Regions from separate parts of the Homo sapiens genome. Here region 1 is linked to region 2. The links are contacts of gene promoters, found by promoter capture Hi-C in human tissues and cell types (Jung and others, 2019). All regions are on one chromosome and are shown on one strand. The core of a region is centred on a gene start or on the middle of the fragment in contact, and the rest is flanking DNA. Distances in the headings are between cores, read along the strand shown. Region 1 overlaps GUCD1 (guanylyl cyclase domain containing 1). Region 2 holds the start of ADORA2A (adenosine A2a receptor).

Region 1 (4,043 bases), core at 24-2,523, 120 kb before region 2:
CCTGTGGACTACAGGCTGCTTGGGTGGCTGAGGCAGGAGAATTACTTGCCACCCGGGAATCGCAGGTTGCAGTGAGCCGAGATCATGCCACTGCACTCCAGCCTGTGCGACAGAGCAAGACCCTGTTGAAAAAAAAGAAAAAGACTCTGTCCCTCCTCCTCAGAGCTCCCACCAAAAGAAGGGCTTTGAGTAGGCATGGTGGGAAGTGAATGCACATGTGGGTCACTGGGCCTGAGAGGGGCAATACTGGAGAAGTGACATCCAAGGGCAGGAGTTAGCTCAGGCACCTGGGAAGCCAGGTATGTCCAGGCAGAGGAACCAGGTGTGCAAAGACCTCCAGGGTGTGAGGGATTATGACAAGCAAAGGCAAGGGTGCAGAGGGTGCTAGGGCAGCAGCCATGGAGGTATTGTCTTAAGGAATGTGGGACCCAGCTCACTGGAGGATTTTCAGTTGGGCTGACCTGCTCTGGCCGGTGTTTTGGGGAGATCACTGCTATTATAGGAGCCTGGATTTGAGGGGATTCCTGAAGGATTGTGGGAAGGTCCCTGAGCAGCCCCTGCAGGGTCTAGGCAGGAGGCAGTGACACTGGCTCCCATGAGGGTGGGAGTGGTGGGCTCTGCGCTGAGGGTCTGTGACCTCCCTCTGTTTCTGCACAGGGGACTTTGTGCAACTGCCTGTGCCCGTCATCCAGCAGCTCTACCACTGGGACTGTGGCCTGGCCTGCTCCAGGATGGTGCTGCGGTGAGTGGGGCCAGGGCTGGGGGCCCAGGTGCTTCCCATCTACATCTTCTGCTCTGGCTTGGGAGAGACCTGGGTGGGATCCATGGTCCATGTAGCTATCTTTGGTTGGGGCTTGCAGGAGGCCAAGCTTCTACCTGGTCCTAGTCCCATCTGCAAAAGTGAGCAAGGGGTGGACCAGGCCTTCCAGCTCTCCATGATAGTAATGTCTGGGGGCTTGGGGTGGCCAGGAAGTCCCAGGTGCCCAGGCCTGTCCTACAAGGCAGTTCTGTGACTGGGATAGGAGGCCCTCCACTCCCCAGTTTCTGGCTCCTGGGAGAATGGGGTGCTGACCGTTAAGCTGAGGCTGTGTGAATATCACAGAAACCTGGACAGTGAGAGCCAAGAGGGACTGTAGCCGTCACCTTGTACAAGAGTTTTTCATTTGGCTTCCTGGAACCACAGGGCAGCTGCATCTTCATCTGTTTTACATCCTGGGAATCTCAGCAAGAGAAAATTCAACAAAAGCGTTCTTTGCCTAAAACTTTGAAAACCACTGATGTGATCAGGGACCTTATTTTAGAGATGAAGCTAAAGAGGCCAGAGAAGACAATGACTTGCTCAAGGTCACAGCCCACAAGACACAATAGATTTGAGAAGCAGAGTCCAGGCCTGCAACTCTGGAGCCAGGACGGTGCCCCAAGCAGCCTGGGCAGTGTGTGGGCAGGACCTAGGGTCTCATGATGAAGGAGGGAGACTTCTGGGGAATGGGACCTGTGACGGGGCTCTTGGGCCAGTGGGTGGAGGGTGACTCAGACCAGTTGACCCTCAAGACCAAGCTGAGCTCCCCAGCTCGTCTACCTGCAGGTACCTGGGCCAGCTGGACGACAGTGAGTTTGAGAGAGCCCTGCAGAAGCTGCAGCTGACCAGGAGCATCTGGACCATCGACCTGGCCTACCTGATGCACCACTTTGGCGTGAGGCACCGCTTCTGTACCCAGACCCTGGGTGTCGACAAGGGCTACAAGAACCAGGTGAGCGACCAGCCACCAGGCCTTCCCATGTGGGGCCACACAGAGGTATAAGGCCACCTGGTTCCAGTAGTTGGAAGAGGGAACAGTCAAGGGCTAGACACCCAGGTAGATACCCAGGTGTGCAGAGACCAGGGAGCAGCAGCAGAGAGGCTATAGGCAGGATTTGGGAGCCAGTCAGAGCAGGTGCCCTTGCAGTCGGGCCTGCCCAGAGGATCTGAGTACTGAGTCCTGGCTCCTGTCCACCTGCCTTCTACAGCCCTCAGAATGTGCAGAGGCCACTTCCTACGTTCTTTCCTACTGTCCTCAGCACAAGGCAGGCCCAGGGCCTCTGAGAACATCACTGACCTCATCCGGCCATCATTTGCACATTTTTTTACTTTTCACCAGGAGAGCCAGCTTTTAAGCTATATAATTGGTAGTCTAGAAGAAAACCAAAATACCATCTTTTCTTTTTTTTGCCTTTTGAAAAATAATGCCAACATAGCCATGCCAGCAAAGTGTGTTCCGTGGACGACACCTAGCTAAGCCAAGCTGTAGCTGAGCTGTCCCAGGTGGTTCAGCCTCATCCCCCTTGCTTATTCGCTACGGGCTCCTGCTCATGCCTGCCAGAGTGTACAAGCCCAAGGGTGATCGATCCTCCCCAGAGAGCTGACCTGAGCCCAGCTGCCCACCCCTCTCTCAAGCATCATCCTCATGCCTCTGTGTGGTCCTGCTTCCCTGCTCCTGCTTAGGACAGACAGCTTTCTGATCTGGCTTGCTGCATGTACCGTCTGCCCTGGCAGGTGGGGCTCCTCTGCCCTCCTGCTGTCTCTGCCTCTGTAACACGCTCTTTATTTCCTTCATCTAAATGGAGTGAAGGCAGCCTGGGTGGTGGCCACTCCATCCCCCTCTTCTCTGTTCAGTCCTTCTACAGGAAGCACTTTGACACAGAAGAGACCCGGGTGAATCAGCTGTTTGCACAAGCAAAGGCCTGCAAGGTGCTGGTGGAGAAATGGTGAGCCCCCCAACTTTCCTACCTGCCCTTCCTCTCATGCCTGCTCACCCACAGATCTGCAGTGGGGAGGCCTCGGGATGGTGTTCAGGAAAGGCTAGGACTCTGGAGCCAGGCAGAACTGGCTACCCGGGTGGCTGTGGGCACTGACTTGCCCCCTTGAGCCTTGGTTTATGGAGCTCACTGGGGCTACATGACCCAGGCTCTGACCAGGGGTGGATCCTGAGCAGGTGCTGGAGGGATAGGTGAGTGAGAGAGATTGCACCCAGCCCTTGGGCTACTTGCAGAAAGACAGCATGGGACAGAACACAAGGCCCCTAATGAAAGGGCGATGGCCTAAGAGGAATGTGCTGGTGCAGTGATTGACAAGGGATGGGGAACAGGGAGGACCCAGTGTGTAAGGGCTGCTGTGACCTTACAAGGGCCTCCTCTTCTCATCTGTATGCATTGGGGCTGGATTCAGGAAGACTCTGGGTGCAGTTTGCCCAGATGTGGGTCACATTCTTTTCTGGGCTACGTGGGAGTGGGGCTCAGACCTGCTGCCTCTAGGTCCTGGACAGGCTCTTCTCAGATTTTCCCTTTCTTTGCGGATTTATATTTTCATTATTGACGTAGTATAATCACATGATAGGTGATTTAGAAAATGGGGGTTTGGGGGCCGGGCGCGGTGGCTCACGCCTGTAATCCCAGCACTTTGGGAGGCTGAGGTGGGCGGATCACGAGGTCAGGAGATCGAGACCATCCTGGCTAACACGGTGAAACCTTGTCTCTACTAAAAATACAAAAAATTAGTCGGGCGTGGTGGCAGGCGCCTGTAGTCCCAGCTACTCGGGAGGCTGAGGCAGGAGAATGGCCTGAACCCAGGAGGCGGAGCTTGCAGTGAGCCGAGATAGTGCCACTGCACTCCGGCCTGGGGGACAGAGCGAGACTCTGTCTGAATCTGCCCTCAAGGAAACAGAAAGGCAAATCCAGGATGTGGGACATTTTCCAAGAGTACTGCCCCGGGCTTTAAAAATCAACAAAACAGGCCGGGCACGGTGGCTCACGCTTGTAATCCCAGCACTTTGGGAGGCCGAGGCGGGCGGATCACGAGGTTAGGAGATCGAGATCATGGTGAAACCCCGTCTCTACTAAAAATACAAAAAATTAGCTGGGCGCAGTGGCGGGTGCCTGTAGTCCCAGCTACTCGGGAGGCTGAGGCAGGAGAATGGCATGAACCCAGGAGGCGGAGCTTGCAGTGAGCCGAGATCGCGCCACTGCACTCCAGCCTGGGCAACAGAGACAGACTCTGTCTCAAAAAA
Region 2 (4,106 bases), core at 900-3,399:
GCTGGTCCCAGGAAGCCCATTTTACAGATGAGGAAACTGAGGCCCAAAGGCACGAAGCGACCTCTCTCAGCCTCACCAAGAGCACTGGAAGGTGGTGTAGGGCTGCGGCCGTGCGCACAGAGAGCACAGCAGCAGGAAGGCTCCTGGGCCTCCAGCTCCCCTCCCTCAGAAGCCTCCCAGAGTGACAGGAAGGTCAGAGGCCCCGGGGAGGGGGCGGGGCCAGGATCTGGCAATTTCCTATCCCTCTCTGTTGGCTCTGTGCATCTAATTACTCCTTGAGTCATCTGTTGCTAACCAGGAGGGGAAATTAAATATTAATAATGTAATACTTCTCTGTGATTACCCCTTGTTGGGGACAGATCAGAGGGCAGATGCTGCCCCATACAGACAGGGGACACATGCTGCGGAATGTGCATAATGCCTCTTGAAAGAACCACCTTATAGGATTCCACGCGGTCAGACTCAAAACTGCTGCTGCTTCCTGCCTTCCTCCTCACCTCCCCCAACCTGGCCACTTTAATTAAAACTCCATTTAATCAAAACCCACACATCTTCTGGTTCCTCATATGTCGCACTAGCAAGGCCCTCTGTACACATGCCCAGATGGTGGCTATACCCCCCAGAGCCTGCTGCACGGAGGTGCCCACCAGCTTCTAGGCAGTGACCTGCACATCTGCTCCTGAGTGCGGCTAAGAGCAACATACAGGACACAGTGCACGGACTCGGACCCGCTCCAGCCATGCCTGGCCTGTTCCTGGGCTCCAGAATCCCAGCCTTAGAACCCTCCTGCTGCTTTTCCATAACAAATGTTTACCAAGTACCTCCACCAGGCCTGGCAGCACCCCAACTGCTGGGCCAAAGGGAGGTGTGCCCCCGTTGCTGTGCCTGGCCCCATCTGAGCATATGGCAGGGGACCTCAAAGGAGGAAAGGACCCAGGACATTCCTGGGAGGCGGCTGCTGCCCTGCAGTTTCAGGCACTGCAGGCCACTCCCTGTCTCCACAACATTGGCTCAGCTAAGAGGAGTCGCAAATCAATTTCAAAGCGCAAGAGGTATATGAAGGCTAAGAAAGGTAAGCAACAGAATAAAAAACATGGAGGTGAATTCATTCCAGTAGGAAGGAAGGTAATACAGTAATCTAATAATGATTTCAGAGACCTTTAGAATCTCCAAAGAGGCAAAGAAAGGAATGGCATCCGTAGACAAGAATGAGAACTTCTGAACCGACTGGCGGAAATGAAACAAGGACAGGTGGATATGAACAAGAAATAATACAAAATCCAGGGACTGAAAAATAGAAGGACTGAAGTAAGGGATGTGGTGAGCTTCAGGCACACGTACAGTGGAAGAGACGACTGGGGATCTGAAGCTAGTACTGAGGAATTCTCCCAGAAACGCCATGAAGAGACCTAGTCTAGGAGGAAACGGTTGAGAGGCATGGGGTGGACTGAGAAGCATCAACAAGTGGCTTGCGGGAGCTCGGCAGGGCACGGCAGGTTGTGGGCCCCACTATGACTGGCTTTTGGGATGGCCCAGGGGGGCCTGGGCATGAACCTCCCAGAACCCAGGGCCCCAGGATCCCCATACCCCTTCCAAACTCATCAGCGCAGGTGCCTTCCTCACTGCCCAGTGGTAAGCAGCCACCCAGCACGGGCTCCACTTCCCTCCTGACCTCCGGGGCTGCCCGGTGGCCCTTACTTCAGGCGCTGGGTGCAGGCTGGGCCCGGGACCCAGAGATACACCTGGCATCCCTCCCCCACAGCCCGGGTGCAGCTGCAGCTCTCTGCTCCTGGTGGCAGGATGTGGGCAAGATGGGGCCAAGACCCAGCTCCCTGCAGCTGGAGGCTAAGGCTCTGAGCCTGCCTCACAGAGCAGCCCCCACATCGCAGCCCCGGGGCCAGTGCTGGGGGCCCCAGCTCCTGCTCCCCACACCCCCATGTGTCCAGGCTAGGGGCCAGGAAGGCCACAGCACCCCCTCCTCCCCGCCTGGGGGCCACTCACCCCCTCACACGAGGCTTCACCTGACAGCCCTCCTCCGAGGGGCCGCACCCCGCACCAAGGTGCTGGGGGCCCACGCTGTGCTGAAAGCAGCTTGGCTGGGGGCGGCTCCTGCTCCATGTCACAGTCCCTGAGGCCCAGGCAGAGCTTCCCCTCTGCACGCGGCTGCTCACATGTACACAGGCTGTGGTGAGCCACGTCACGTCACGTGAAGGATTGGCACCTGCACCTCCCTCAGATGGCGGGCAACAGGTACTATGCCGCTGAAGGGGGGACAAGGGAGTGTTTCTAGATGGCCCCGCGGACACAGAGCCCAGGAGTCCTGGGCGGGACCCTGTGGGAGGCTTGAAGGGGCAGTGCTGGGTGCAGGGCCTCACAATGCCCCAGGGTGGCTGCAATGAGGATGGGAGGGGTGAGGACCGGCTGTTGGGTCCCTGGGCAGGTGCGACGAGGCAGCCCCGGAGGCTGACAGGAGGGCAGGGTGACCAAGCAGAGCCTGGCCACTGCTTCTTCCCCACTGAGCAGCCTCCCCCAGGCTGGCTCAGGGTTTGCAGAGGCCACTGAGGGACCAGAGGCGAGTCCTCCTGTGACACGGGCAGACCAGCCCGGGGCCTCTGGGGAGAAGTCTCCTGCCCAGATGCCAGAGGAGACACCAAGTGGCACCATCGGCCTCCCTCTGCTTGGCCAGCTCCGGCAGCCTCTCCACCAGGTGACGGCCGATGCCAGAGACCAGGGCTGCAGCGGCACATCCGAGGAGTGGGCACAGAAGAGCAGCAGCAGCCCCTGCCCAGTGACTCCTGGAACAAGCTTCCCCTGCGGGGTGTTGGCGGGGGGTGGTGAGAGAATCCCCATGGCAACTCACAGAAACATCATCTGGGTGAGACTTGGAGGAGAAGGTGAAGGGAGAGAGGTATCGAGAGATTCTAGCAGAGAAAATGCCCGAAGCCAGGGTCCTGCCTTCCCTGGGCTCCCATCATCCCCTGTGCTGGGACGAGGGGCAGCTGCTCTGCTGCTCCTCTCTCCACCTGATCCTCCCCAGTCCCTGGCCAGATCCATGGAGTCCAGGCTGCAGGGGCCCAGGCCTCCTCCGCCATGAAACTGCCTCTTCCCACCACCCAGAGCCCCAGGTTCTGCACAGGATGTGGGCAGTTGTGTGGGGGCTCCTCTCTGCACCCCAGCTCCATTCCCTTCCCCATCTGGGCTCCTCTGCTCCTTGCAACCTCTGGACCACCCACCTCCTAGGACCAAGCCCCTCCTGTCAATGGCCCAGACCCTTCTGGGAGCTAGAACCCTCCCATTCACCAGCTCAGCTCCTGCCTGTGCAGTCTCCTCTCCACAGCACCCCCACCACACATGCCCTAAATCCCCTCAGCCTGTGCTTCCCGCCTTCATCCATCCATCCATCTTCTGTCTGTCCTTCCTCTGCTCTCCTGCGTGCTCAGGGCTCTGTTTGCGCTGCAATAGACAAGACAGACCCCGCAAACACGGTTGGGAAGGCAGTTCTAGCTCATTTGGGGTTAGGTGGCTCGGGTATTAGGTCTGTGAGAGGGTACTAAGACCTTCTTTGGAGTGTCAGGACACAGCTGAGAGCCACCAGGGGCTGTGGTCCCACACAGCAGGCACTGCCCAGGCCTCACCTGGACTTTGCAGGACGTGATGCTCTCAAGTCACATGCTGGCTCCCAGGCCAACTACCATTCATATGTCCCTCTGCCAACAGCAATCCCTGTGGTGTCCCCTGACCCTCAAGCCTAACACCCTCCCTCCCGGGTTCCCCGCTCCAGCACACACCCCTCACCGGCCCTCTGGTCTGCCCTAAACCTTCCCCCACTTGCTCCCAAGCCAAGGCCTTTCCACATTAGGCATTGCTAAGATCATCATCCTTGTTCTACAGATGAGATATCAGATTCCCCGGGACAGCAACCTGCTCAGCGAGTGGGTCGAGGAGGCAAGACCAGAACCCAGACGAGAGCACTGAAATCTCCAGCACATCGCGTTGCCCATGAGGCAGTCATTGCCATTGATTGCCCTCCTCCATCGCGACGCAGGGCATATTTGGGGATCTGTAATTCACAGACTGATATGGGAAGAAGCCCAGCACAGCTCTCA

Evidence for each region. Contacts are between HindIII fragments. The study calls those that stand out against the background at their distance.
Region 1: a fragment that was not itself captured here is called in contact with the fragment with the promoter of ADORA2A in region 2 in 2 of the 25 tissues and cell types used here (lymphoblastoid cells and spleen).

The regions. Positions count from the first base shown.
Region 1 is chr22:24,545,616-24,549,658 of GRCh38, reverse strand. It overlaps GUCD1 (guanylyl cyclase domain containing 1), which reads left to right. Exons shown (of 6, transcript NM_001284254.2): 2 at 658-742; 3 at 1,586-1,751; 4 at 2,654-2,745. Among named protein-coding and RNA genes, the nearest start is that of GUCD1, 7.5 kb to the left of the region's middle. The HindIII fragment of the contact is 3,805 bases long and covers 1-3,175 here.
Region 2 is chr22:24,425,642-24,429,747 of GRCh38, reverse strand. It overlaps ADORA2A (adenosine A2a receptor), which reads right to left and starts at 2,149. Exons shown (of 3, transcript NM_000675.6): 1 at 2,002-2,149. The region is part of intron 18 of SPECC1L-ADORA2A (SPECC1L-ADORA2A readthrough (NMD candidate)); the gene reads right to left. It overlaps ADORA2A-AS1 (ADORA2A antisense RNA 1), which reads left to right. Exons shown (of 7, transcript NR_028484.3): 7 at 1-542. RefSeq lists enhancers at 1-288, 363-522 and a silencer at 1,959-2,068. The HindIII fragment of the contact is 18,723 bases long and covers 1-4,106 here.